Regions from separate parts of the Homo sapiens genome. Here regions 1, 2, 3, 4, 6 and 7 are each linked to region 5. Evidence: promoter capture Hi-C in 16 types of primary human blood cells and fetal thymus (Javierre and others, 2016). All regions are on one chromosome and are shown on one strand. Each heading gives the region's core, a stretch centred on a gene start or on the middle of the fragment in contact. The rest is flanking DNA. Distances are from core to core; before and after follow the strand shown. Region 1 overlaps MED12L (mediator complex subunit 12L). Region 2 overlaps RNF13 (ring finger protein 13). Region 3 holds the start of RNF13 (ring finger protein 13). Region 4 overlaps MED12L (mediator complex subunit 12L). Region 5 holds the start of SERP1 (stress associated endoplasmic reticulum protein 1). Region 6 overlaps MED12L (mediator complex subunit 12L). Region 7 overlaps RNF13 (ring finger protein 13).

Region 1 (3,754 bases), core at 78-2,577, 650 kb before region 5:
CAACTGCTTAATTATTTTCATCGAGTTTGGTAAAGAATGACATTATTCATGGACTCTAACGTGCTAACTCAGGTAGGGAAAGAGAAAGGGCATGTAGCCTTTAAGCAGCACTTGAATTTAGAAAGCTTTGTGTACATCTGCCTTATTCATCTGTTTGCATACATTGTTTCATTACAAATGCACACAAAGGATCATTAATTAATTGGGGAAATTAAAATTTAGAAAGATGTCAGAAGTTTTATTCTCTTATTAAAAGGCACTTACAGAGTAGCTGATCTGGCCTTCAATGTTGGTCACTATAACTTATATTTGCTTCTTTTAAAAAGGTTGTATTATAATATAAAATGTTTCCTTGCTAAAATACAAAAATAATCTTCAGGTCTTTAAAACAAAAGAACACTGTTTAATGTGCAAAAGGGGGACCCACACCAACAGGCAGCACCAGAAAGATTACTAATGTACCCTTAGCTCTAAGCATGTGAGTTTGAATAGACCAGGTCAAAGGGAGCCCTATCAGTTTAACTTGAGCTTACAAACCCGCTCAATGTTCCAGATTTGGGAGGGACATGACAAGACTTCATTGTCATTATCAGTGGTGATCACAGTAGTTCTAAGGGTATGTCTTATGCTTCTGGGCTTTTAACTGCTTCAAAACCCACAATGAAAGAAAAAAAAAGCGACTCAAGTGTTGAAGTCAGATGTTTTGATACTAATATAAATAAATCTTTCTCCAAGGATTTTGTAACCAATGAACATACATCCATGTTCTGGTAGTTGTGGGTTTTTTTGTTTGTTTTTTTGGTTTTTTTCTGTTTGTTTTTGAGACAGACTCTTGCGACCAGGCTGGAGATTTTCCATCAACTCCTTACTTCCCCTGTCAGCCTGGGTTCTCCCAGCCTTAGGAGCCACATGAATCTATGGAAAACAAAAAACTAAAACAAGAAAAAAACCAGAAGGCCTCATTGAAAGCTCTTCATGCTCAACCACAACCCTAGTTTCCTCTCTCTACTTCTCAGAATCTCGGTTCACTTATCTCCTCTGCAAACTAACTTCCAACCCAACTGGTAACAAGAACTACCAGAATGGAAAAACCTGAGGTTGAAAATATCCCTACCAAAAGCAAACCTGCATGGGATTTCCTGAAAGTCACAAAATCAGACAATGGAAAACCCAGGCATCTTCACAATCTAGTATGTTCTCACCAGGCCATATGGTCTGGTAAGTTCACCAATAAAATTCTAAGAACTGGAAAGACAACGGTATTGTGAAGACCAATGTCTTTTAAAGAAAATAGTTGCTAATTTTAATTACTAACCTCCCTTTCCTTGTTTCTTTTACAGAGTCTTAGAAATTTTTTCTTTTCAATAAGCAGTCATCCTTACTTTCCCTCAAGATGACAAACAGTTCGTTCTTCTGCCCAGTTTATAAAGATCTGGAGCCATTCACGTATTTTTTTTATTTAGTTTTCCTTGTTGGAATTATTGGAAGTTGTTTTGCAACCTGGGCTTTTATACAGAAGAATACGAATCACAGGTGTGTGAGCATCTACTTAATTAATTTGCTTACAGCCGATTTCCTGCTTACTCTGGCATTACCAGTGAAAATTGTTGTTGACTTGGGTGTGGCACCTTGGAAGCTGAAGATATTCCACTGCCAAGTAACAGCCTGCCTCATCTATATCAATATGTATTTATCAATTATCTTCTTAGCATTTGTCAGCATTGACCGCTGTCTTCAGCTGACACACAGCTGCAAGATCTACCGAATACAAGAACCCGGATTTGCCAAAATGATATCAACCGTTGTGTGGCTAATGGTCCTTCTTATAATGGTGCCAAATATGATGATTCCCATCAAAGACATCAAGGAAAAGTCAAATGTGGGTTGTATGGAGTTTAAAAAGGAATTTGGAAGAAATTGGCATTTGCTGACAAATTTCATATGTGTAGCAATATTTTTAAATTTCTCAGCCATCATTTTAATATCCAATTGCCTTGTAATTCGACAGCTCTACAGAAACAAAGATAATGAAAATTACCCAAATGTGAAAAAGGCTCTCATCAACATACTTTTAGTGACCACGGGCTACATCATATGCTTTGTTCCTTACCACATTGTCCGAATCCCGTATACCCTCAGCCAGACAGAAGTCATAACTGATTGCTCAACCAGGATTTCACTCTTCAAAGCCAAAGAGGCTACACTGCTCCTGGCTGTGTCGAACCTGTGCTTTGATCCTATCCTGTACTATCACCTCTCAAAAGCATTCCGCTCAAAGGTCACTGAGACTTTTGCCTCACCTAAAGAGACCAAGGCTCAGAAAGAAAAATTAAGATGTGAAAATAATGCATAAAAGACAGGATTTTTTGTGCTACCAATTCTGGCCTTACTGGACCATAAAGTTAATTATAGCTTTGAAAGATAAAAAAAAAAAAAACAAAAAAAAACTCAGTATGAAAAAATACAGTTAGCTAGCAAATATGGACAGGTTTACTTAGAAATCCTGTTTCTAAATGCAAGTCAAGCTTTATTGTTAGGCTTGCTGCTACTCATTAACCCAAATATTTGTACAAAAAACTAAAGAGTCTCATTGAACGAATGTAAAATCCTGCAATATCCTTGAAATCCAAAAGAGGTCCATGACATAGACCCAAAGGTATTCATGAGTTATTCATTTAAATGCCTGGAACTGACTTCTTGATAAAAATATAAAAAATAATTTCCATGTAAGTTACCAGAAAGCCCACCAGCAACATAATTTTAAAGCCTTTCAGATTACTTTTAAAAAATGCAGCTTACATATAACAACTTGTGCCTATTTTATTTCTAATCTATCACTTCAAAAGATGGTAATCTTTCAACTCATTATTCCTCCAATTTTTAATGTCGAATTTTTTTCTAACACAATAACCAAAAGCTTTTATTTATAAAAAGGCTTGAAAAATATAGACAATCTTTAATGTATTATTTGTAATTATATTCTACCTGTAGGTTATAATAAAGGCTTCCTGATGTTAGTAATAATACATTTAGTGACTTCTCATTTCTATTTTGAAGTAACATGAAACACAGAGGCCCTGTAACATTTCAGAGGGAGTTGTTAAGTTATACTAACTACTGAAACTAGTGTTTTGGAACTAGAAAATCACATCGATAGCACATCAATGGTAAAACAGCACCAGTCAGATGGTCTTTATAAAACAGATACACTGACTTCGCATAGCAAGGCCGTGTTAGGAATGTAGCACAGGCCGAGCTACTCAGTGCCACCCAGGTCCAGAAAGATGAGCCTGACTCCACGTAGGGCCCCAGTTTAAAGTATAGGTGACTCCAGCCGGGCGTGGTGGCTCACACACTTTGGGAGGCTGAGGTGGGCAGATCTCAGGTCAAGGGTTAGAGATTAGCCTGGCCCACATGATGAAACCCCCTCTGTACTAAAAATACAAAATTTAGCCTGCTGTGATAGTGCACGCCTGTAATCTCAGCGACTTAGGAGGCTGAGGCAGGAGAATCATTTGAACCTGGGAGGCAGAGGTTGCAGTGAGCTGAGACTGCGCCACTGCACTCCGGCCTGGGCAAAAAGAGCGAGACTCTGTCTCAAATAAATAAGTAAATAAATAAATAACAATAAAGTATAAGCTGACTCCAGCTCTCAGAGTCACAACTCTGATCAAATTCTCTCCACTGCTGGTGATGCAGAAAGAATACACAGCATTAAATAAAAGACTTATTAGGAAAAAGAATATTGGAAAAA
Region 2 (4,025 bases), core at 265-2,764, 580 kb after region 5:
GGACTCTGGGGTTCCACTCTGGAGATGGAGAGTCCATAAGCCCAGGAATCCCTTTTCAGAAACAATCACTGAGTCAGTCTGATTCATTTTAAGTGGTGTATATGCTACCTTTTGAGAAAAAATGGGTTAGGGAATAGGAATTAACCTGTCTTAAAATATACTATGCATAATGAAAGTTTTTTTTTCTTTGACTAGTTGTCAGGCACTGGTTGTGAATATGGTTGTACATACACAGGGATGTACAAATATGGGAGATAAAGGATTTGGGGCTATTTTGGTAGTTGGACATAACCTAGAAATTGTAAAACTATAATAAAAACCTGGTATCAGTTTCTTGACCTGTTAAGGCCAAAAGACGGGGCAAATGAAAATTTGGTGGTTGAGTTGTGATGATTTGAGATTTTACAATAATACACATTCACACTTTACATGTAAAGAACTATTAGGGTAACCAATTATAGAAGGCAGTGACCAAAATTCTGAAACTCTTAATTAATCTGTAAGTAGGTGAAGGGGCAGTGTGTATGTGTGTGTTCAGAGAGGAGGTTGTGGGTAGAGAAGGTGGTAAAGGGTGAGTGTATCACTAAAATAGTATATAATGAAACTATTCATTGGCTTTCTACCCACAATTTCATTAGAAAAATACTTAGGGAAATACATACATGCGTACTTTGCTTTGTACTTAGTTCTAGGAATTTAGCATATGGAAATGAAGCTATACAAATTTGTATACCAGAATGTCCATCATGCTGCATTACTTATGACATCCAAACTTGGAAAATATCTACAAAGTTCAGCTTTTTAAGGGGTATGGTTTGAATAAATGATTTTAAGTCCATAGGACAAAATAGTCATTGAAGAATGACATAAGAATGTTTACCAATGAATGTTAATAATATAAGGATATAAACATGTCACATGACAGTGCACATACATACAGTATTAATATACATGTATTTTACATATGTATTTCTGAAGGCAATATATTAAGATAAATTTATCTCTGGAGTGAAAGTTTCCAGGTGACTATATTTTGATTTCTAGTGTTAATATTACTTTTGTAATCAAGAAAGTTTTAAATGTTTTTTAAATAGAAATTGGATTTTAATTGCACCTACTGTCCTGTTTGAAAAGCTATACCATGAAATTATAGAACATTTCAAGTGAACATTCACAGAACCTAGTAACAGCCCTAGCCAGTGCTGCTAAATAAGACACTTCGTAGATTTTTTTTTACAGTTAGTTAGTAATTATTTGGAATTTCAAAAAAAAATTTTTTTTTCCATAAAACTCCTAACATAAAGGGACCAGGTCCTTATTCTAAACTTTGGATTAAAGACTGAGGGAATATAACATCTAATACATACTTAACCATTACCGTGACTTTTTACTTTTTTCCCTTTTCCTATTTTAAAATATTGTTTTAGGTTTGTTTTTATTTAATAATAATTATTTTGAAGGCTATTACTTATTGCGCATTGATGTGCCAGATACTGAGCTCAATGTTTTCTCCTCACACCCTCTTAGGTTAAATGAAAATTATGCAAATGACCAAGCAGGTTTAAAAAGGTTAGGGCCATACAATTATGTCAAATTCCAAACTCTGCTTAACTACCGTGGTAACCTTTGATGTCCTGTTTCTCAGGCCTGTGGTTCTTTAATTTTTTATAAAAAAGGGGAAGAGGGATGAGGTATCAGATAGCTGATGTTGAATTCAACCGTTTATTTTCCAAAGTAGAAATACCTATTTATTTTTTTCCTGATTATGAACATTATTTTTTAAAAGGCAATTTGGAAAGTGAAATTTTCCCTCGATATACCATAATTTACAACAGGGTACCAAAATGTACACTGTTTATTTTTGGAATAATTTTGGCAGCAGTCTAAACTTTTTGGGATATTACCTAACTGCATGTGAATGGTCAGTTACCTTGTATAAAGTCCTAAGGTGATGTGATTTCTCTGACCTCAATCATTATCACTTTATAGGATATATATAAATAAGGCTAATATGGTAAGTAATACTACAGTAGAACAGACATTTACTGGATCTTAAAGTGGAAAACATGTTTATTAACATTCAAACTCCCCTCATACAAGGCCATATAAAAATCCTTAGCATTTTGATTATACATTAGTCTACACTTTCTACATAGTTACAATGATGTATAATTTAGCTTTTCATAATACAGTGTTTCAATACATCATTAGTTCTGTTAAACATAAGTCACTTACTTTCAAATCCAATACTTGAACAGTTTCCTCTGTACATAGTTTAGCAGGGCTAATTAGCATAAGATGCTATTTATTAAGAGGTATATGATCTGAGTATTAACAGTTGCTGAAGTTTGGTATTTTTATGCAGCATTTTCTTTTTGCTTTGATAACACTACAGAACCCTTAAGGACACTGAAAATTAGTAAGTAAAGTTCAGAAACATTAGCTGCTCAATCAAATCTCTACATAACACTATAGTAATTAAAACGTTAAAAAAAAGTGTTGAAATCTGCACTAGTATAGACCGCTCCTGTCAGGATAAGACTGCTTTGGAACAGAAAGGGAAAAAACAGCTTTGAGTTTCTTTGTGCTGATAGGAGGAAAGGCTGAATTACCTTGTTGCCTCTCCCTAATGATTGGCAGGTCAGGTAAATGCCAGAACATATTCCAACTCAACAACTCTAGGTAACTTTATGGAGGTGGAAGCTGGGTTAGTTCATGCTAGGTGGCTGTAGCACTGACCTCATGTATAAAACGCAAAACACTTAAATACTGTGATCTAGGTCTTAATTGCAAGCTATACTGAGGATTTTTTTTTTTTTATGTTTTGGCTATACTTTCATTCCAAAAGAAGAGCTGAATTGATGCTTGAGTTACAGCACCAGTCTATTATTAGTGAATGAAGTATATTCTTGGCAGATAAATACCAGATCAAAAGTCCTGTTTCAGTAATTTGATTAAACTGTAGAATACTAAAAAATAAGTTATTTCTACAGAAATCTTTGAAGGGAGCAAAAAATCAAATTACAGTATATACCTAATCATTTTAAAGGGAAATAAACCAATCATCTTCTGAAAGTCAAACAGTATTTGCTATGTTGTAATCCCGTTCACCATTAGGCTGCAACTGGACCACGACATCATGTTCATTAATTTCATTTTCTGCATCACTACTGTCAGTATCTTCATTGTCGTCTTCCTCATAGTCTGAAGATTCTGTCATGTTCTGATGTGAGCGGGATTCCGATAAAGCCCCAAATGACTGGGCACTGACAGAAGCTAAAGGTCTCAGTAAAGGGGTATGTTCTGTCACTTCATTTTCTTCTTGACTACTGTCTGTGTCAGAGTCTGAATCGCCTTGAGAAGGAACAACTTTTTGCTTGCACACTGGACAGGTTTTTTTGGTTTTAGTTAGCCAAGGGTCTACACACTTGCAGTGATAAGCTGTTGAAGCAAAATATACATCTTTAGTTAGTATGCTGCGGTTGATACTTTTATATTTAATCTCTTGCCATATTTATTCAGTGTTCTGTATGTATCATGTAGGGACGGGAAGAAAGTTTATTTTTTATTTTTATTTTTATTTTTTTTTGAGATGGAGTCTTGCTCTGTCACCCAGGCTGGAGTGCAGTGGCACAATCTCAGCTCACTGTAACCTCTGCCTCCTGGGTTCACGCCATTGTCCTGCCTCAGCCTCCCTAGTAGCTGGGGACTACAGGCGCCCGCCACCACACCCAGCTAATTTTTTGTATTTTTAGTAGAGACGGGGTTTCACTGTGTAAGCCAGGATGGTCTCGATCTCCTGACCTCATGATCTGCCTGCCTCGGCCTCCCAAAGTGCTGGGATTACAGGCGTGAGCCACCATGCCCGGCCTGAAAGTTTATAAATTTTTATAAATACACCTCCATCCTTGAATGAGACCACTAATTAGTACAGGGCCTGGCTTCTGGTGTGCTAATAACTATTTTCCATCTCTTCCCCTGGAATATGGAACCTAAATATAAATTACTATATGTAAATTCAAAGC
Region 3 (3,819 bases), core at 858-3,357, 730 kb after region 5:
TTCATACATCTCTTATGGCAAGAACTATAAGGCATAAAATGCCTTCCTAGCCAACTTAACTCAAAGACATAAATCTATCCCTTTAGTCATACCCTCAGGCCTACCCTCACTTAGCTAAAGTTAGTGCCTGTAAAAGTTCTGATAAATCTACGTTATTCTGGAATGCAGAAAAATATCAAGGGAAGAAAGCTGAATGCTAGCAACAATTTATGCCCCTCCAAAATTATTGAGAAAATTAGCTTTATACAAGCATAGATGAGAACTTATCCCAAACCCTTCAGTATTATACCTCTCAAACCAAGATTCTGTCTATGATTTGCATTACACATAGAGACAAGATGTCAAGCTGCCTAGCTTCAAACAAAGGCAGAGGTTAAAAAAAAAAAAACTAATAAAACAGTTCTCATTCCCTACATAGAGAAAAATAACTGTGCCTCTCTCCAACAGTTTCCAACAAAACAAAAAAAAATTATGTAATAGACAAATTTTGTTTCATTTAATCCTCATAACAACTCATTTCTTATTTACGGAAAATGTCACAGAATTAGTAAATGGCAGAGCTGAACCCAGCTTGACTCCCAAATTTGGAATTTAGTATTTTGAAACATTTGTTTTTGCCATAATCCATAATACACTTTACATTTCCATCTTCCTCTTGACACACACATACTGTTAAAAACTGAAACAAAAGCTTCTTGCCATAATATTTACTTTTATTCCATACAATGTCCTCTGGTATTTTTTCTTTCTTTATAAAGCTTATGTCAATGTACTAAATTGATTCTAAAATCTATTAATGAATCCTTATGGGCCCTGCACTACAGCACTGCACTACACTTCCTGCACTACAGCACTGCACTACACTTCTTACCTCCTGTTTAAAGTTCTTTTTAATTGCTATCACTGTCCAGTTTTGTTACTTCGAGATGGAGCTAATGTCCACCCATTAAAAAACTGTGCTTAAATAGCATAAACTCTTGAAAGCCCTACCTTAAATCTTGAATTGATCTGTTTCTCCAGAAGAACTCTTTGGAGGCACAGCCACCTTACTTATTTATATTGTATCAAAAACTGCAGATGTTCTCCTTGGAGAACAAACACATCATTGTTGAAAGGAATGCATCAGTTTTCACTGTTTCTGCTGCATCACTGACGAACAGTAATAGCCGGGCAGGTTTGGGGCAACAAGAGAGGACCCGAGCAGCTGCCCACGGTGCTGAAACTGATGATGAAACGACAGTTTTGGAAATTTACTATTTACTATTGTCAGATTAGGACAAAATAGAGGAATTTACCAGACACTGGCAGAGAAAACTGAGTGGCCGCCACCAAAGTTGCATGAGTGCTTCCGGGATACTGCTGTTTGGCTTCGATGTCTGCCCACTCTCTCTTTCTCTCTGGGACAAAGTTATTTAATAAGTGCAAGTCAAGTCAAGTCAAGCATACAGGCAGAGCTGCTGACTGACCGTAGTATCTGGCCCTAGCAGGGGTTAAGTCCCAAACCTGCAATCTGAGCTTCCAGGGAAAGAAAAAGGGGGTGGGGGTAAAAGAGAGGAAGTGACTGCCCTCCTTCTATTCAGAGACAAAACAGCCCCCTCAACTAAAGTCAAGCGATGTGCCCGAGGACGTTGCGGCAGGTACTTGACCAAGAAAAGCCTTCCAAACATGTTTTCCAGGCAGGCTCTTGCAGCCTCAAGAAGGGAATGAGAGAAGCAAAACCGGTAACTCAACTTTGGACACACACAAACTCGCGGAATGAGAGTGCAGGGGAGACTCGGTCCCCCGAGGGCAAGGCTATTTTATTCCTTTTGCAAAAAGCCTAATTGACTTCTCACCCAGCTCTAGAGGAGCAGCAAAGACCTCAGCAGCAGGGCCGACTCCGAGCTCGAGGGCCAACAAGCGGGGTATGTTCTCTGGGCCGCTCGATAACGAGCTGCCCGGCTGCCGCGAAGCCGGACAGGGTCTTACCTTGAAGTCCGGCCCCCGCAACACAAACAGTCTTGCCAGCCGCGTCGCTGCGGGAGAAGTCCCTACCCTGATTTCATGACTGAATATCCGCACCGACCCCCACAGCCCGGAGTACTAGCAGGGACGACAACACCTAGGCGAAGCGGAAGTCCCGCCCCACGCGCCTCATTGGTCCGCACCCAAAGGCACAGAAAACCCACTGGGCAACATGGTTGCCTGTTAAGGCTCTTTCCCACTCTCACGCGGAGTCTCGCTACTTGCTCTAGCCCGGCTCGGAGAAATGCCCAGTTTGCGAGTCTCGTTCTTGGCCGCGTGATCCGTCTTCCCTGGAAGGGAAGAGCAGGGTGGGGCAGGCGTCTGCGGAACTGGAGCGCGGCTGAAGAAGCTGCTCTTGGCAGAGGAAGGGGCAGGCTGGCAAAGTGGATTGGCTGTGGGCGCCTGCCGCTAACCATGTGCCCCTAGAAACGGAGACCGTAGGGTCTGGAGGGCGCGGGACCGAGCGGGCAGGGCCGGTCGGTCTGATCTGCTCCGGCTGTTGGGACAGAGTAGCCCAAGATTCGGCTGCCGGGCTGCCCCCGGGCGGGCCTGGCCCTGGCGCTGACGCGTCTCTTCCCTGCACACTACACTCACCCGACCTACTAAAGAGGCGAGGGCGAGGCCTCATCCGCCCGCCTTCCGTACCGTGCCCAGTCTGAGATCAGAGTGGGTGGGGACCGTGGCCACACCTTAAAGTAGGGCTCAAATTGTTAGAGATGCGAGCGGCCCGAGGTCTGAACGCCAGTCCCCTGAGGCCTGGCTCGGATCCACGCTGGCATCAGCACTCTGGGCCTGACACGCGCCATCCCCGGGGCTTAGCAAAAGTCAAACCATGTGATTCAGGCCCTAGGTCAGCCTTTTAAAACCCTTGCCTCCTTTTGATGAACCAAAAATCTCCTCCCCTGCCGCCCTTCTGATAAGCCTTCCTTTCTGGTTGTCTCAATCTTAAACCAGTCGAAACTTAAATTACCGGATTGTACCATCCACATTGATTAATCATTGCCAACTCGCCACCTTACAAAAGCAGTGTGACTTAGGCAAATATTACAGAGTCCTGAAAGAAATGTCAGGAGACATAGAATCAGGCACTACTTCTGCTTCAAATAATAAGGCACCCTTAATAAGGCCTTTACAGGCTTCAACTCCTTCAACATCATCTTTTAAAAATGGTGGCGAGGAGGCTATCACACAGAGTATTAGTAGAATACCATTGGATGTAACTTGTCACTTTGATTGCTTGGAGAGCCCTGAGTAGGTGGGACACAGCAATGGGGAAAAGACTCTTTCCTTATTGTGTATCCTTTTGTGCCTTTTGAATTTTGAACCTTGCAAATATTACCTACTCAAATAAAATTCAAATACAAGAAATTTAAGATCAAATTTTAAAAAATTAAATAAAAGCTATCAAAGGTACTTTCCTCTTCTGTGTATCCTATGAGTATTCTATGTAGTCTTAACTTTTCATTGGTTGCAAAGACATTCAATACTTAAATCACAATTCTGCCTTTAAGAAAGTCATAAATAAAAGTCAGCATTGGGAATATTACTAAGAAGACTAATTAGTATAAACACATTTATAATATCTCTATAAGCATTTTTTTCATTAAATTATCCCAAATTGGTATATTAAATCAGATTTCTTGCATAACATCAAAATAAATTTTTTTAGGCCGGGTGCGGTGGCTCATGCCTGTAATCCCAGCACTTTGGGAGGCCAAGTCAGGCGGATCACTTGAGGTCAGGAGTTCAAGACCACACTGGCCAACATGGTGAAACCTCGTCTCTACTAAAAATACAAAATTAGCCGGGCATTGT
Region 4 (4,064 bases), core at 793-3,292, 600 kb before region 5:
ACAAGAGCACAAAAGTCTTGTACTGCAAGGTTGCATGGAAACTCCCGACTGCATCTTTCTTCCTGTGAGGTTGCTGGGCTGTATCTGATAGCTGAGGAGAACCACACTGGACACCTTTCTTGGATTCTCCCTTTCACTCACAGGTCTCCAATTCTCATTTTCATTTTAACGTAAACATGCTAACTGTCGCATTTAGGGATTTTTTTTTCCCCCAGTTGTCCTTTTTCCCTATCAACCCTGTACATGCATCTCAAGCTAAGGCATGCGGCAACCACAGAATCCAATTTTAGCCCTTAGAACAAGAATTTCTTATTTGACACATCAGTCACACCACCAGCTTCCCCCACAGCTACAGTTTCGGGGGCTTCCTTCTAACAGAGGGACACACTGAACATGTGCCACCAACAGGCTCAGCTCCTTCTCCAGGGCATGAGATAGCAGTCTGAAATTAATGTTGGAATTATCATATGGTAAATTTCTGTCATCTTTTCAGATTTCTATATATACCTGAGTGAGCAACAGCCTTGGCTTTGGTGAAATATTCGTATCATAGGGAATAACAGGGACAGCATTTTTACAAATATTAAATTGGTGCACTTAATTAACCACTTAGGACATATCCCCACAGCCTTCTACATGTGACACCAAGTCATGAGTTTTACTGCCCCAGGACAGGAGGACTGTAGGAAGATGTAAGACTTGTCTTCTAGCAAGACACACAGGCCACCACTTTGCTTCTGTGTAGAGAACACACCTCTGTGCACTCCTCTGGCCAGGTCTTGGGGGACAATGCTGTAGAAGGGAGAAGAGGAGACATGGGGAAGAAAGGGAAGGCACCCACCCTCCTGAAGATTCAGGGGAATGGGAGCAAAAGAAAAACGGAGGACAAGCACTGGTGAAAGATACTTGCTGCTAGCCCCACTCTGAAGACACAGAAGTTATTTAAATTATTACATCAGACATTTCACGACCCTCACCTCCTCTCCCAGCTTCTGCTGCAGAGGCAGTGGGAGGAAGCGCCCAATCATCTGAGGAGCAAAAATAAACAAACTACATTTTCTTTTTTCACTTTGCATTGGAATTTAATCCCATGATCAGCTGTAGTTAGAGTAACGTTTCAATAGTTAAAGTGGCATTGTGCTTACTATTTAGGTCCTAAATGCAGTTACTGTAAAGTTTCTATTTCTGAACAAGCTTTAGACAGCTAAGAGTCTTTCATTAGAACACAAATACGACAGACATCATATTGCCAGATGACCGTGTAAAATAACCCTAGAGCAAAAAGCTCTAAAACACAGCAAAAATGCTTACACAGTACACAGACCAGCCAGATCCACCCCGGCTTCCCTCTCATTCCCTGCTCCGGAACTCACTCCTGTGTGATTTTTCTGGAGACTAAAGAATGATGCATGTTATGTTCATTTAATTAAAGCTATTTGCTTTAGCTGTGTTAGATTCACAAAGACATTCCAACTATAATTTATTGACCCTTAACTGTTTTCTACCCGGCATACCCTATGAATTCCTTGACTACAAAATAACAGATTTGAATCAGGCTTTAGAGCCATGTTATTCCAGGGATTTCACTTGGAAGTTTATACACATTTGGAAAATGACTTTGAAACCTAATGTACTTCTTTTTAATTAAAAAAAAAAAAAGCTTTCTATTTATCATGGAATTAACATTCCAGTGCAAATTGCAAAAATAAAGAACCTAGCTTTTATAAATAAGTCATTAAAAGGTTAGCTTAGAGCCATTTAAAAAACAAGGCCACTGTATGCACAGTATGGAGCAAGCACCAATTTTTTAAAGGACTGTTAAAAAATACACAAAATCTACACTTAAAAATACATGAAATATATCTCAGAGGATATGCATGAAACTGGTAAGAATTATTGCTTCTAAACTATGTAAGGAGGGGTCTGGGATAGAGGTAGGGGGTCTGAAGACAGTATGTTAGAAAGGAGACTTCACTATCCCTTTCTGAACATTTTGTGTTTTGGACCACATTTTGTAATATTACCTATTAGAAATTTTAGCTCATACAAGAAGCTATCTTTTCTTAAAATTCTCTTGTTTATGCTTTAAGCAACAGATCTGCAAGATGCCCAACAAATTAAAACTCATTAAACATTGAGCTTTTGGAAGCATTCTTCATACCTTAAGCAAACACCATTCCCCCACTCAGCTTCACACAGTTGATCTTCATTTGATGTGAGCAGCATGCAAATTCTGTAAATCAAACAGGACCCAGAAACAGAAGTCTAGGATGGAATTTCCCATTCTTCCACTTTCCACGAACTTTGTCCCCTCATTTGTGAAATGGAGGCACTCAACTACCTCAGAGAATTTTCAAGAAAACTAGCCCAAATGAGAAGCTACGAAACCAGCCTGTAAACTGCCAAGACTTTGAACAAGCTTATTTTGTAGTATACTATCTTCCAAGTATGCACGTATATACCAATAGCCATAAAGAGGGTAGGGAACCATGATTTACCAATTAAATCAAGGTTCTTATTAACATTTTATCATAGAAGATGACTGATTAATTCAAGTGGGAGTGAACATTTACTAGGACTGACTAGAAAAAACTGTTGAGTAGCAATGGATTCTTAACAGAAAATGTGGGACTAGACCATTCACCCAAAGTGACAAGACCAGAAGAAATGACAGTAGTAAAGACTGCAGCGAATATACTATCTGGAACAGAACTATAAACTTAATTCATTTGCTCATAAGTTGCCAAAGAGGAAGATGGAAGATAACTGAAGAACCAAGAACTACTTAAGATCCAAAAAACAGAGTAAAAAATCCCAATTCTTACTTAAAGGCTAGATTTCTTTAAGGCATAGCTCATATTTTACTACTACAGAAAACTTTCCCTAATTTTTCCAGTCGATCCATTATTTCCTATATGATTACAGGTAATTAGATACTAATGTATTATGCTCCGTTTTAGGTGTGTATCTTGTAACCACAAAAAGATGGTATCCCCTTACAGACAAACAGCACAGCCCCCATTTGGTTAAAAATCTTCACAGCATCTACCCCAATGCACAGACTCTTGATAAACCTTTTTTAAACTAAATCACTCCTTATTCAAGTGAAATACAGTAATTTCTTTCAATGCATTTCTCTAAGAAATTCAAAAACTGGCCAGGCCCAGTGGCTCATGCCTGTAATCCCAGCACTTTTGGAGGTCAAAGCAGGTGGATCACGAGGTCAGGATTTCGAGACCAGCCTGGCCAACACAGTGAAACCCCGTCTCTACTAACAAAAAAAAAAAAACAAAAAAAACAAAAAAAAAAACGCCAGGCACGGTGGCTCACGCCTGTAATCCCAGCACTGTGGGAGGCCAAGGCAGGTGGATCACAAGGTCAGGAGATCGAGACCATCATGGCTAACATGGTGAAACCCCATCTCTACTAAAAATACAAAAACTTAGCTGGGCGTCGTGGCGGGTGCCTGTAGTCCCAGCTACTCGGGAGGCTGAGGCAGGAGAATGGCGTGAACCTGGGATGCGGAGTTTGCAGTGAGCCGAGATCGTGCCACTGCACTCCAGCCTGGGCAACAGAGCGAGACTCCCTCTCAAAAAACAAACAAACAAACAAACAAACAAACAAACAAAATTATCTGCGTGTGGAGGCACGTGCCTGTAATCGCAGCTACTCGGGAGGCTGAGGCAGGAGAATGACTTGAACCCGGGAGGCAGAGGTTGCAATGAGCCAAGACCAGGCCATTGCACTCCAGCCTGGGCGACAGAACAAGACTCTGTCTCAAAAAATAAATAATAAATAAATAAATTCAAAAACTATCATGGGCATACATTTTCTTTGATTTCACCAAAAAATTAATTAAACATAAATATACAACCACCACAACCACACACCAGCATTCTAACTTGGAAGAGGGTATAATATTTTTACTTTGGAAAAGCTGAAATATGTTTCCACAGGGCAACAATCGGGCACATAGAGTTACAGTGCAGCATATTAAACTTGATTAGAACTTTTTAAAGTTTCTGTAAATCAGCAAAGTATGATGGCAGTAGCCAGAGGCTGGT
Region 5 (4,021 bases), core at 1,417-3,916:
ACTGAGGCTTTTAGGTTATACGAGTTTAAAAAAAAAAATCCCTTTTTCACCTGCTTTGGCTTGTCACTCCCAATTAAGAGTTGGGGTTAACAAAATTTACTGGCTAATCTGCAAATTATTCACAGCTCTAAAATCCCACGAGTCTAAATTTAACAAAAGATTTTGGAAGTAAAATAATCTATTGTTGAATGAAATATGTACACTGAGAATGTTTAAAAGATTAAACAGTTTGTTCTAGTGAAAGAAAAATGGACCACAGAGTTGAACAATCTGAATAAGTATAATCCTAATCCTGCCAATTTGCAGTGTGAATCGGACCACTTAATCTCTCTGGGCCTCTAAGAATATGAGAATATGAAGAGTAGACTGAACAGACAACATTTAAGCTCTTACAAAGTCCCTGATTTTAAGCACTGTAAGACAATTGTCATCCTTGGTTAATTTACTATAAAGTGGCTATCCTTCATTAATTTAAAAGGATAGTCTAAACAGACAAATCTAATCTAGATCTCTTGTATGCACAGTTCAAAATAGGGTTTGCGCTCTTATGAGGCTCTAATGCCCCCACTGATCTGACAGGAGGGGAAGCTCAAGTGGTAATGCTTGCCCAGTACCAGTCCGGCCCAGGGGGTTGGGGACCCCTGATTTAGAGTATCTATTGTCTACCAGGCACTGCACTAGTACTGAGAAGACAGATATGAATAAGACCCTGTCGCTGACATTGAAGGACTCACAGTCTAGCAGGGGAGAAAGGCAAGTGAATGTCTAATTATCCTACTTAGTAAGTGAAATAAAATTTCAAATATATTTCAGGTACAAAAATAGCCCAGGAAGTGACTGACTCTATCTGGGTAGAGTGACGAAAGGCTTCACAGAGCAATGATATCTAAAATGAATTTTAATTTCAACAGATGAAAAAGAGTTTGCCAAATCAACAAGAGGCATAGGATAGTACTAGACTGAAGAAACAGGTTGTTCAAAGGGACTCAGAAGCAGTTCAGTATTGATGGAGCACCAAATAAGATGGGATGGCAAGGAAATAAATGAGTCTCAAGAGCAATTCAAAGATTATAAATGGTTACATAACTATGCTACATAGGATGGAATCTACCCTGTAAGCAGAGAGGAACTACCTACTGTAGGCATTTTTAAAGGAGGGGTTATTTATCAGATTTTAGAATGTAATTTTTTCATTAGAGTTCAAATAAGCATTTAGTATTAAAAATTGTGAATAACAAGCTACCTTTACAAACCTAAAAAAAAATTTATTATGTAACTTTGCCTTTTAAACAGTCTTTGCCTGGTATATTATCTAGAAGATTATACTCGGCGTTTGATAAATGATGACTAAACTGCAGAAGACAGACTGAGCATCAGTGGGCATGGCGCTTAATAACAAAGATTTTAAAATGTAAAAATAGAAATGTAGACTGGCAAAAAGTGCAAAAATGTTTTAAGGTTCCTTTCGCGGGGGGGAAGGGAGGGAATAGCCTCCCTCCTTAAATGCAGACAACCTTTCTCTTAATGACTTTTTCCTTCTATATAGTTATCAGAACTTAACCAAAACCTTCTTTTCCTTCCCGACTCTCTTTTCCTTACGTAATACTCATATGCAGACTCTTAGCCACACCCTAGTAAAGCAACTTCCCCAGCATTTTCCAATCTAAGTTTATTATCTCCTCCAACACTACAGTCTTTAGCTTCAAAATTTCAAGAGTCCTCTAATGTTCTATTTCTAATATGCTCATAACCATTTCAAAATCAAATGTTGCTAGAATATCTCTATCATGCTCACTGCTACACCCTCTCCCAACCACACCTTCATCATTTGAAACCTGCATTACAGCTCCACTCTCCCTATTCAGTCCTACAAACCTCATTAAGGCAGGAAGGCCAGAATCTGGAATTACTTAAGTCCAGGTGTATTTAAAGTGCGTGATCATTCTAGAGGACTAACTCATGTTTGTCTTTGTTCTTATTGTAGACCTAAATGACTTCACAAGGGCCCGTGTAACACCAGTATTGCAGACCCATGTGTCACAAATTCAACTAGCACATTGTTTTTCTCCCCCTTCTTCTATTTCTGTAGAAGATGAATCCGCAGGCAAGAATGATGGATGGGTGAAAGGGAGGGGGAATACGAAAGCCCAGAGGCGGAGACTTCACTTCCGATTGCCACGCTATATCAAGAAAGCCAACAGTCTGGCCTTTCCGCAAGCCACAAGAAAAGGCAGATCAGACTCCCCGGCTCCTCGGGTAGTTCTCAAAGGCAAAGACAAAAATAAGAAACTAGTCTGAAGAAAGAGAGTCCCTCGCTTCTTCAGAACTCACCTGTCAAGAGCGGCGTGGACGGCGCCATGTTGTCCCGGAAAGAGAAACCGCTCGGGTGAGAGTTCACCAGGGCCGAACCCGGCCCCTACACGTCTCCTCATGCGTGGAGACAGCGAATTGGTGTTTCCGGAGCCATCAGCCTCGGGGCCAATTCACTTCCGGTTACGGAGTGACGCGGAAAAGGCGCCCAAACGCGCACGCGCAAATCTAGGGCGACGCTTGACAGAGCTTGGGAGGGTGCGCCTGCTTTCGCCCTCCTTCTCCAGCGGGAGGGGCGCGCACTTCCGCGGGGCGGAGTCCGTCTAGTGCTGACGTTGGCAGCCGAACCCAAAGTAGATCGAGGCGGCGGGCTGCACATTCCCGTTGTTGCGTTGCGTTTCCTTCCTCTTTCACTCCGCGCTCACGGCGGCGGCCAAAGCGGCGGCGACGGCGGCGCGAGAACGACCCGGCGGCCAGTTCTCTTCCTCCTGCGCACCTGCCCCGCTCGGTCAGTCAGTCGGCGGCCGGCGCCCGGCTTGTGCTCAGACCTCGCGCTTGCGGCGCCCAGGCCCAGCGGCCGTAGCTAGCGTCTGGCCTGAGAACCTCGGCGCTCCGGCGGCGCGGGCACCACGAGCCGAGCCTCGCAGCGGCTCCAGAGGAGGCAGGCGAGTGAGCGAGTCCGAGGGGTGGCCGGGGCAGGTGGTGGCGCCGCGAAGATGGTCGCCAAGCAAAGGATCCGTATGGCCAACGAGAAGCACAGCAAGAACATCACCCAGCGCGGCAACGTCGCCAAGACCTCGGTAAGGAAAGAGCGGGCGCCCCTCTGCGTTCCGCAGCCGGAGCTGAGTCCGGGTCCCTGGGGCCGCGTCGCGTTTTCTCCCGGATCCGGCCGACCGTGGGCTGGTGCCGTGGAGGGGTAGGGGCCCGAGTCTGCGAACCGCCAGACTGTGGGGGCTCGGGAACGGAAGGGGAGACCTGTGAGGTGAGGGGGCCGGCGACCGGCGTGCAGGCGTGGGAGCCTGGGGTCCGAGTGGTTTCTCTGCATCTGAAATGGTGGATTTTCGCTTTTGCAGAGAAATGCCCCCGAAGAGAAGGCGTCTGTAGGACCCTGGTTATTGGCTCTCTTCATTTTTGTTGTCTGTGGTTCTGGTAAGTGGCTTGGGGGCTCCCATCAGGTAGAGTCTTGGGTTGAAAGGATTTGGGATGACGTGGTGACCGGTCAGTAGTGAGTCCTACCTGCGTAGTTCTCAACCCACCTGCCGAGGACTCCACATAATTCTGTTTCGTCTGAACCAAATTACTTGTTCCACATATGCACAGAGGGTGGTGCTCCAGAAACTTCTCCCAGCTTAATTTGTACTCACAGGAGATCAAAAAGGAGGTCAGGTCTTGGTAATGATCCAGTTGGAATAAATGTTAAGACCGGACAAAACCTAACGAAATGAGAATTTAGAATGTTTTGTAACTCCATTATCAGTCTTTGCAAAGAAAATTATAAATATGTACTATAGATGTTAGAACTTGATTTAACATATACCAGAATCTAATGTCTTAATGTCAAAATTGAGTATATTTTATAAAATAAAGCTTGTGCAAAGAATTGATTCACTATAGAGGAAATTACCTGATTGGCATTTTAATGTGTGAGTCAAATGTTTTTAGGTTAATAAAAGAAACGTTTGATACATGGTTTAAAAAAAAAGTGTCGGGG
Region 6 (3,957 bases), core at 421-2,920, 720 kb before region 5:
GGCAGCTGAGCCCAAAAGAAAACACACACACACACACACACACACACACACACACACACACACACACGACAGCTTGCTCCCAGGAACTGGAGAAAATTTTTAAAAAGGTTGGAACCTATCAGTGTTCTATTAGTCATTTTCTCCTTCACCCCCTTTCTTTCCTCCCTTTCATCATCATCTTCATCTTCTTCATCTTCATCCTTATCCCCTTTCTTTATCAATATCTTCCCATCCTTCTTCATCATTTATCTCCTTCCCTTTCTTCATCATCCATATTGAAAACCAAGTAGTACTGTAATGGATTTGTCCAAGTATTATCTTTGATGAACTCTCCCAACTCAACAACACCTGCATCAGAACGGTCAGTAAACCAGGTAAAGAAGCTCTCTGGTTCTTCGTGCTGCCTCTTCCTGCTGACTTTACTCTGCGTTTGACTGGAACGTTTTCATTATATCCTTTCCAGATTTGCATTTGACTTCAGTGGACTCTAAAAATAGATCACCACTCTCATTCAGATGAAATTCCTTGGAGAGAACTTTATTTTCAAACTAAAGATTTTCATCAAAATAAAAATCTTTCTGTAACCTGATTTAATACCTCCAAATTCTGTCACTTCAACTCGTCAAATAATACAGTGCCTCTTTGTCTTCCTCCCCAAGTAATGTAGACACTTGTGGATGGCTGACAAATGCTGTTACCCAAAAATTTGAAATTTGGGCAATCAATTTTGACCTCTTCCAAAAAATGGTTGGCAGAATTTGTTATACTTCTGTTCTGCTTTCACAATCTCCCCACTGGCTTGTTCATTAAGTCTCTGAATTTTGTGTGTGTGTGTGTGTGTGTGTGTGTGTGTGTGTGTGTGTGTGATGGAGTTTCACTCTTGTTGCCCAGGCTGGAGTGCAATGGCACGATCTCAGGTCACTGCAACCTCCACCTCCCAGGTTCTAGTGATTCTCCTGCCTCAGCCTCCCAAGTAGCTGGGATTACAGGCATGCACCACCACACCTGGCTAATTTTGTATTTTTAGTAGAGATGGGGTTTCTGCATGTTGGTCAGGCTGGTCTCGAACTCCCGACCTCAGGTGATCCACCCACCTTGGCCTCCCAGAGTATAGGCATAAGCCACCGCGCCCAGCCTGTATTTCCTTTTGTACGTCGTCAATATATTCAATTGCTTCTTTCTGTTCTTTTTCTCCCTTCTTCAGCAAGCCCAGAGAGGCCAATGTCTCCTCCGGTCTCAGAGCAGGAAGTAGTCTTGGTTTTGGGGGTCACACCGCTAGGAAAGTTCAAGAACCAGACCACAATTCTTCTTTCTCGTCAGGAAGACGCTCAGAAAACTTAATTTTTTTTGTTTTGTGGCTAAAAAATTTTGCATACTAAAACCAACCGAAGGTTGGGAAGGTATTTTACATTTTCCTCTAGAAGCTTTGTGGTCTTAGTTTTACCTTTAGGTCTATGATACATCTTAAATTGCTTCCTTGATTCCTCCATTTCATCTGTTAGTAGCTCTCTGCAGAGAACAAGTGCTTTGTAAACACTGCTGACTCACTTATAAATGCCCTATAGGTTAGAAGAAATGTGTTTTCAAAGCTTACTAAAGGCTCTATGCTCAGCCTCAGTAACATTCTAGATTTAAAAAACCACTAATGGGAATGAACTCACAAATTAGACAAAATTTGAAACAAATTAGGCAAAATTTGACAAAATGTCTAACTCACAAATTAGACAAAATGGAGAAACCTGGAAGCTTCCATTTAGAACTCATGTTATGGTTCTGCCTAGGACATGCCTTGACTAGGGCAGGGATAATCCAGTTTCATTTCTGTACAAATAGCAGTTTAACTCAGCACAGAAAATGGAGAGCAGTATGCTCACCATATTTTCTTCCTCTTTGTATATATGTTAGAAAATTACCATGTCATTAGCATAGACTGAATTCTTTTTAACAAATTAGGCCATAAAACAGTAATTCACAGCAGCTCTGTTGAAAACTGACTTATATATATATATAAGTAATAAATGTTACAAGATATTACTCTCAAGAGACATTTTCTATACCCTAAAACACTGGCATTATTTTATAGGATTTAGGTAGCTTTAAAAAATGTTTTATTAATGCTTTGTATTGAAAACATGTAAGCTGAAAACATAAAAAGAAGTATTCCCACTGTTTAAAGACTACCACCGATGCATATTAAAACAGAGCATTTCCAGCTATTTCCTTGAGACTTTACTAAGAACGCATAAGACTAAAAAGAGCAAAAATTACCCTTGTCCATTTTACTGGCATTTGGAGAAATTCATAAATTAGGATAATAGCGCATTTCTTAAGTACTTAGCAACTGATAAAATACTCTACGTACAAAGAAATTTTAAAAAGCTATTCTCAAACACTGTATTTTGACAGCTGTTTCCTTGATATTATTCAGCCAAAACATGCTCCATGTTTTAGCAAGGTTCCTTTCTTATTACTCTGCCTTAGTGCCTAAGTTTCTACACCACAATTAGGCAATTCTTTTTAATGAATTAGGCCATAAAACAGTAATTCACAGCAGCTCTGTTGAAAACTGACTTATATATATAAGTAATACATGTTACAAGATATTACTCTCAAGAGACATTTTCTATAGCCTGAAACACTGGCATTATTTTATAGGATTTAGGTGGCTTTAAAAAAATGTTTTAAATTCATAGGAAAACTATTTACATCTAAGCAAGGACCGAGGCTCTCATTTGTAGCTTGCACTTTTCTGTTTTTAACAATTACCCAGATTCACAAGCTAACATTTCAGGGATAATCAATAGTGGCTTAGAATTTAGGGTGAAAAAAGAGAAAGTAACATATAACCTTGATATTGTTTCTTTCTAAAAAGAAAAGGGGATTTGTGATTAGCTACTTAAATTTGATTACATTATACACTTAAATTCCTTTTCTCATGAAGTATTTCAATGACTACCATTTCCTTAATAGCACTTCATTATTGTTATGCCTTTCTAAATGACAATGTACAATCCTTTTCACAGCCAAAGGTCAAAAAGAATAAAGAAAGCAAAAATCTCCCAGTAAGGAATACTGTCATAAGTCACATCTTCCATGAAGTGTTTAGTTGATAGTTCCTGTAAACAGTCAAAATAAACTTCACTTCAAGAATGTAAGGAGTTCTAACACGCAAGAAATGAACTCTAGAATGAGCTGCCCAGACAATTTTAAATTAGGAAAAAGTCTTTTGTACTTTACAGTATAGATGTAATTTGTCAACACTATGTATAAAGTAAATCCAAACATCCCATAAAATCCATTTTAAACCATACTGAAAACACTCCAGGACAGAATGGATTGACTTCATGTGAAGGTGGGGGTTTATAAAAGTTACAGACTCCTACAACATGCTGGGCATGACAGCATACCAATTCCTTCCCAGGAGAAGGAAGTTTTCCCTTCGTAGGACATCTACAGCACTTTTTTGCTCTGACCTTAGTCTTTCTTCTTACCAGGCAGCTAACTATTTCCTGCATGTATGCTTTATTTTTCCCTGTGCCAAGCCACCAAGTCCCAAAGCTTTCCTCCCATGGCTGGAGTTCCTTTCCACTGATATGTTCATATCACTTGCTCATCCACTCCTTCATTTACTTAAAATCTTCAAGGTACTAGAATAGGAAAGAATGTTCAAGGAAAATAAGACAGCAACCCCCATCTCTTATAGCTAACGCTAAGGTGGAAGTCAAAATTGAAACGCGATTTTTAAAAAGGACTGCACTATTATACAACTGCTTCTGTAAAAATATAATTTAAAAAATGTCTAGAGTCTAGGCAACCTGTGTTTAATGTTAAGTCCGTTCGCTCAACACTAAACTGCTTTCTATCTGGATGATACTGTAAATGTGATCCTAAAAGTCTCTTCTGTTTGAGATTTCCAGACACATGCAGTGATAGGGTTCAAATATTTCACAAATTTGT
Region 7 (3,679 bases), core at 877-3,376, 710 kb after region 5:
ATTAACAGACATTTTAACTGAAATCAGCTTCGTCACTCTAAAGATTTTTCCAACTGTCAAATTCTAATTTTACTTTCTGTTCAGTCTGTATTATAACACTTAAGATGTATTCTTGCGAAACTGTTTTAAACCAGTTCTAACAAGCCTTTAGCTCTCACTTCAAGTTTACAAGAATTTTCTGGAATGAAAAAAAATAAATAAGATACCACAAGATGGGTGTCTTGCTTGAGGGTAATGCCCCAATTTCTACAAAATTCAACACAATAAACAGAGACAGTACAAGAGGACAGAATGAGGAAATGGCATGAAATTGTTACACATCAAAAGAGATGAGAAACAGTAAAGACAAATGCAACATACAGTTCCATTAAACCAACAATAAAAATACATTTTCGGAATAATGGAGACAACGGAAATATGGCCCAGATATTAGATATCCTTTAAAAAAATCCTTAGCTATGATGATAGTATTATGGCTGGTATGGGTTTGGCTGCATCCCCAACCAAACCACATCTTGAATTCCCAGGTGTTGTGGGAGAAACCTCGTGGGAGGTTAATTGAATCATGGGGGCAGGTCTTTCCCATGCTATTCTCATGAGAGTGAGTAAGTCTCATGTGAACTGATGGTTTTATAAAAGGGAAGTTCTCCTGCACATGCTCTCTTGCTTGCTGCCATGTAAGACATGCCTTTGCTTCTCCTTTGCCTTCTGCCATGATTCTGAGGCCTCTCCAGCCATGTAGAGCTGTCAGTCCATTAAACCTCTTTTTCTTTATAAATTACCCAGTCTTGAGTATTTCATCATAGCAGTATGAAAATGGACTAACATAGTAAATTGGTACCAGTGGAGTGGGTACTGCTATTAAGATACCAGAAAACTTAGTTTAAAAGGGAAGTGACTTTGGAACTGGATAACAGGCAGAGGTTGGAACAGTTTGGAGGGCTCAGAAGAAGACAGGAAAATGTGGGAAAATGTGGAGCTTCCTAAAGACTTGTTGAATGGTTTTGACCAAAATGCTGATAGTCATATGGACAATGAAGTTCAGGCTGAAGTGGTCTCAGAAGGAGATGAGGAACTTATTGGGAACTGGTGAAAAGGTGATTCTTGATATGCTTTAGCAAACAGACTGGTGGCATTTTGTCCCTGCCCTAGAGATTTGTGGAACTTTTAACTTGAGAGAGATGATTTAGGGTATCTGGCGGAAGAAATTTCTAAGCAGTAAACTGTTCAAGAGGTGATTTGAGTACTCTTAAAAGCATTCAGTTTTATTCATTCACAAAAATACGGTTTGGAATTGGAACTTATGTTTAAGGGAAGCAGAGCATAAAAGTTCAGAAAACTTGCAGCCTGATGATGCAATAGAAAAGAAAAACCCATTTTCTGAGGAGACATTCAAGCCAGCTGTAGAAATTTGCTTAAGTAACGAGGAGCCAAATGTTAATTGCCAAGAAAATAGGGAAAATGTCTCCAGGGCATGTCAGAGGTTGTCATGGCAGCCTCTCCCATCACAGGCCCAGAGGCCTAGGAGGAAAAAATGGCTTGCTGGGCTGGGCCCAGGGCCTTGCTGCTTTGTGAAGTCTTGGGACTTGGTGCCCTGCATCCCAGCCGTGGCTAAACAGAGCCAAGGTACAGTTTGGGCCCTGGCTTCAGAGGATGCAAGCCCCAAGCCTTGGCAGTTTCCACGTGGTATTGAGCCTGCAGGTGCACAGAAGTCAAGAATTGAGGCTTGGGAACCTCTGCCTGGATTACAGAATCTGTATGGAAATGCCTGGATCCCCAGTCAAAAGTTTGCTGCAGGGGCAGAGCCCTCATGGAGAACCTTTGCTAGGGCAGTGTGGAAGAGAAATATGGGGTTGGAGCCCCCACACAGAGTCCCTACTGAGGCACCACCTGGTGGAGCTGTGAGAAGAGGACCACTGTCCACCAGACGCCAGAATAGTAGATCCACCAACAACTTGCACCGTGCACCTGGAAAAGCCGTAGACACTCAACGCCAGCCCATGAAAGCAGCCAAGAGGAAGGCTGTACACTGTAAAGCCACCAGGGAGGAGCTGCCCAAGACCATAGGAACCTACCTCTTGCATCAGCGTGACCTGGATGTGAGACAAGGAGTCAAAGGAGATCATTTTGGAGCTTTAAGATTTGACTGCCCCGCTGGATTTTGGACTTGCATGGGGCCTGTAGCCCTTTTGATTTGGCCAATTTCTCCCACTTGGAACAGCTGTATTTACACAATGCCTGTACCCCCATTGTATCTAGGAAGTGACTGATTGGCTTTTGATTTTACAGGCACATAGGCAGAAGGAACTTGCCTTGTCTCAGATGAGACATTGGAATGTGGACTTTTGAGTTAATGCTGAAATGAATTAAGACTTTGGGGGACTTTTGGAAGGCATGATTGGTTTTGAAATATGAGGACATGAGATTTGGGAGGGGCCAGGGCAGAATGACATGGTTTGGCTGTGTCCTCACCCAAATCTCATCTTGAATTCCCATGTGTTGTGGGAGGGACCCGGCAGGAGGTAATTCAATCATGGAGGCAGGTCTTCCCCATGTTATTCTCGTGATAATGAATAAGTCTCATGAGATCTGATGGATTTATAAAGGAGAGTTGCCCTGCACAAGCTCTCTTCTCTTGTCTGCCACCATGTGAGACGTGCCTTTCACCCTCTGCCATGATTGTGAGGCCTCTCCAGTGATGTGGAACTGTAAGTCCATTAAACCTCTTTCTTTTGAAAATTGCCCAGTCTCAGGTGTCTTTATCAGCAGTGTGAAAAAGGACTAATACAATAGCTGTATGAAAAAGTCCTTATTTGGGGAGCTATCTATTATAGTAAAGTACTTAGGAAAGAAATGTCATGATATCTGTCATTTAAAGCACTTCAGAAAAAAACACACTATAAATCTAGGTGAAGATTACATTGAGATTCATTACACTATTTCTCTGCTTTTCTATATGTTTGAGAATTTATATAATAAAAAGTTTACTAAATGCATGAAAAATTATTTTAACTCTTCAGTGATCTTTTCAGAAGGCCTTCAGCCTCTTTTCTTAATGTGGCATACAGACATAAAATTTACCATATAAAAAATTTTAAAGTATACAGTTCAGTAACATTAACTATATTCACATTGTTGTGCAAATATTACCACAATCCATCCCTAGAATTTTCTCATCTTCCCAAACTGAAACCTGGTACACATTAATTACCCATGCCCCATCCCCTGGCCATTGGCAAGCACAATTTTATTTTCTGTTTCTATAAATTCAACTACTCTAACTACCTAATATAAGTGGAATCATACAATATTTGTCCTTTTGTGACTAGCTTATTTCACTTAGCATGATATCTTGAAGTGTTGTACCACATGTGAAAATTTCCTTCCTTAGCAGGCTGAGTAATATTCCATTATATGTACATACCCCATGTTACTGATCCATTCATCTCTCAATTGACACTTGGGTTGCTTAGATCTTTTAGCTATTGTGAAAAAAATAACTGAGTTCCTGCTTTAAATTATTTGTGGCATATACCCAGAAGTATTGCTGGATCATATGGTAATTCTACGTTTGATTTTTTTTTTTTAAAGAACTGCCATACCATTTTCCAAAGTGGCTGCACCATTTTACTTTCCCACAAATAATGCACAAACAGTTACTATTTCTTCACATCCTTGC

What was found. The method cuts DNA at HindIII sites, captures the fragments that hold promoters and counts their contacts. A CHiCAGO score of 5 or more calls a contact.
Region 1: a contact is called between a fragment that was not itself captured here and the fragment with the promoter of SERP1 in region 5, in 1 of 17 cell types (total CD4 T cells). The highest score is 6.5, in total CD4 T cells.
Region 2: a contact is called between a fragment that was not itself captured here and the fragment with the promoter of SERP1 in region 5, in 2 of 17 cell types (total CD4 T cells and naive CD4 T cells). The highest score is 5.0, in total CD4 T cells.
Region 3: the fragment with the promoter of RNF13 here is called in contact with the fragment with the promoter of SERP1 in region 5 in 10 of 17 cell types (non-activated CD4 T cells, fetal thymus, naive CD4 T cells and 7 more); the score reaches 13.8 in non-activated CD4 T cells.
Region 4: a fragment that was not itself captured here is called in contact with the fragment with the promoter of SERP1 in region 5 in 2 of 17 cell types (erythroblasts and naive CD4 T cells); the score reaches 6.3 in erythroblasts.
Region 6: a contact is called between a fragment that was not itself captured here and the fragment with the promoter of SERP1 in region 5, in 1 of 17 cell types (naive B cells). The highest score is 5.2, in naive B cells.
Region 7: a fragment that was not itself captured here is called in contact with the fragment with the promoter of SERP1 in region 5 in 1 of 17 cell types (neutrophils); the score reaches 6.1 in neutrophils.

The regions. Positions count from the first base shown.
Region 1 is chr3:151,197,026-151,200,779 of GRCh38, reverse strand. All of the region lies in intron 16 of MED12L (mediator complex subunit 12L), which reads right to left. GPR171 (G protein-coupled receptor 171) reads left to right here. Exons shown (of 3, transcript NM_013308.4): 3 at 1,341-2,948. The coding sequence starts at 1,394. The coding sequence ends at 2,353. Among named protein-coding and RNA genes, the nearest start is that of GPR171, 4.3 kb to the left of the region's middle. The HindIII fragment of the contact is 2,400 bases long and covers 128-2,527 here.
Region 2 is chr3:149,960,156-149,964,180 of GRCh38, reverse strand. RNF13 (ring finger protein 13) reads right to left here. Exons shown (of 10, transcript NM_183381.3): 10 at 2,042-3,441. The coding sequence ends at 3,077. Among named protein-coding and RNA genes, the nearest start is that of PFN2, 8.7 kb to the left of the region's middle. The HindIII fragment of the contact is 7,519 bases long and covers 1-4,025 here.
Region 3 is chr3:149,811,503-149,815,321 of GRCh38, reverse strand. It overlaps RNF13 (ring finger protein 13), which reads right to left and starts at 2,107. Exons shown (of 10, transcript NM_183381.3): 1 at 1,969-2,107. RefSeq lists enhancers at 2,264-2,373, 2,239-2,750 and a silencer at 2,584-2,733. The HindIII fragment of the contact is 6,716 bases long and covers 761-3,819 here.
Region 4 is chr3:151,140,413-151,144,476 of GRCh38, reverse strand. The region is part of intron 5 of MED12L (mediator complex subunit 12L); the gene reads right to left. Among named protein-coding and RNA genes, the nearest start is that of MED12L, 57 kb to the right of the region's middle. The HindIII fragment of the contact is 759 bases long and covers 1,663-2,421 here.
Region 5 is chr3:150,545,141-150,549,161 of GRCh38, reverse strand. SERP1 (stress associated endoplasmic reticulum protein 1) reads left to right here and starts at 2,666. Exons shown (of 3, transcript NM_014445.4): 1 at 2,666-3,110; 2 at 3,384-3,459. The coding sequence starts at 3,027. EIF2A (eukaryotic translation initiation factor 2A) reads right to left here and starts at 2,375. Exons shown (of 14, transcript NM_032025.5): 1 at 2,332-2,375. The coding sequence starts at 2,359. RefSeq lists enhancers at 2,068-2,607, 1,880-3,079, 2,525-3,155. The HindIII fragment of the contact is 4,802 bases long and covers 1-3,899 here.
Region 6 is chr3:151,266,307-151,270,263 of GRCh38, reverse strand. The region is part of intron 16 of MED12L (mediator complex subunit 12L); the gene reads right to left. All of the region lies in intron 1 of P2RY14 (purinergic receptor P2Y14), which reads left to right. It also overlaps the pseudogene SETP11. Among named protein-coding and RNA genes, the nearest start is that of P2RY14, 10 kb to the left of the region's middle. RefSeq lists an enhancer at 1,347-1,416. The HindIII fragment of the contact is 157 bases long and covers 1,592-1,748 here.
Region 7 is chr3:149,836,532-149,840,210 of GRCh38, reverse strand. The region is part of intron 1 of RNF13 (ring finger protein 13); the gene reads right to left. Among named protein-coding and RNA genes, the nearest start is that of RNF13, 25 kb to the right of the region's middle. The HindIII fragment of the contact is 5,997 bases long and covers 1-3,679 here.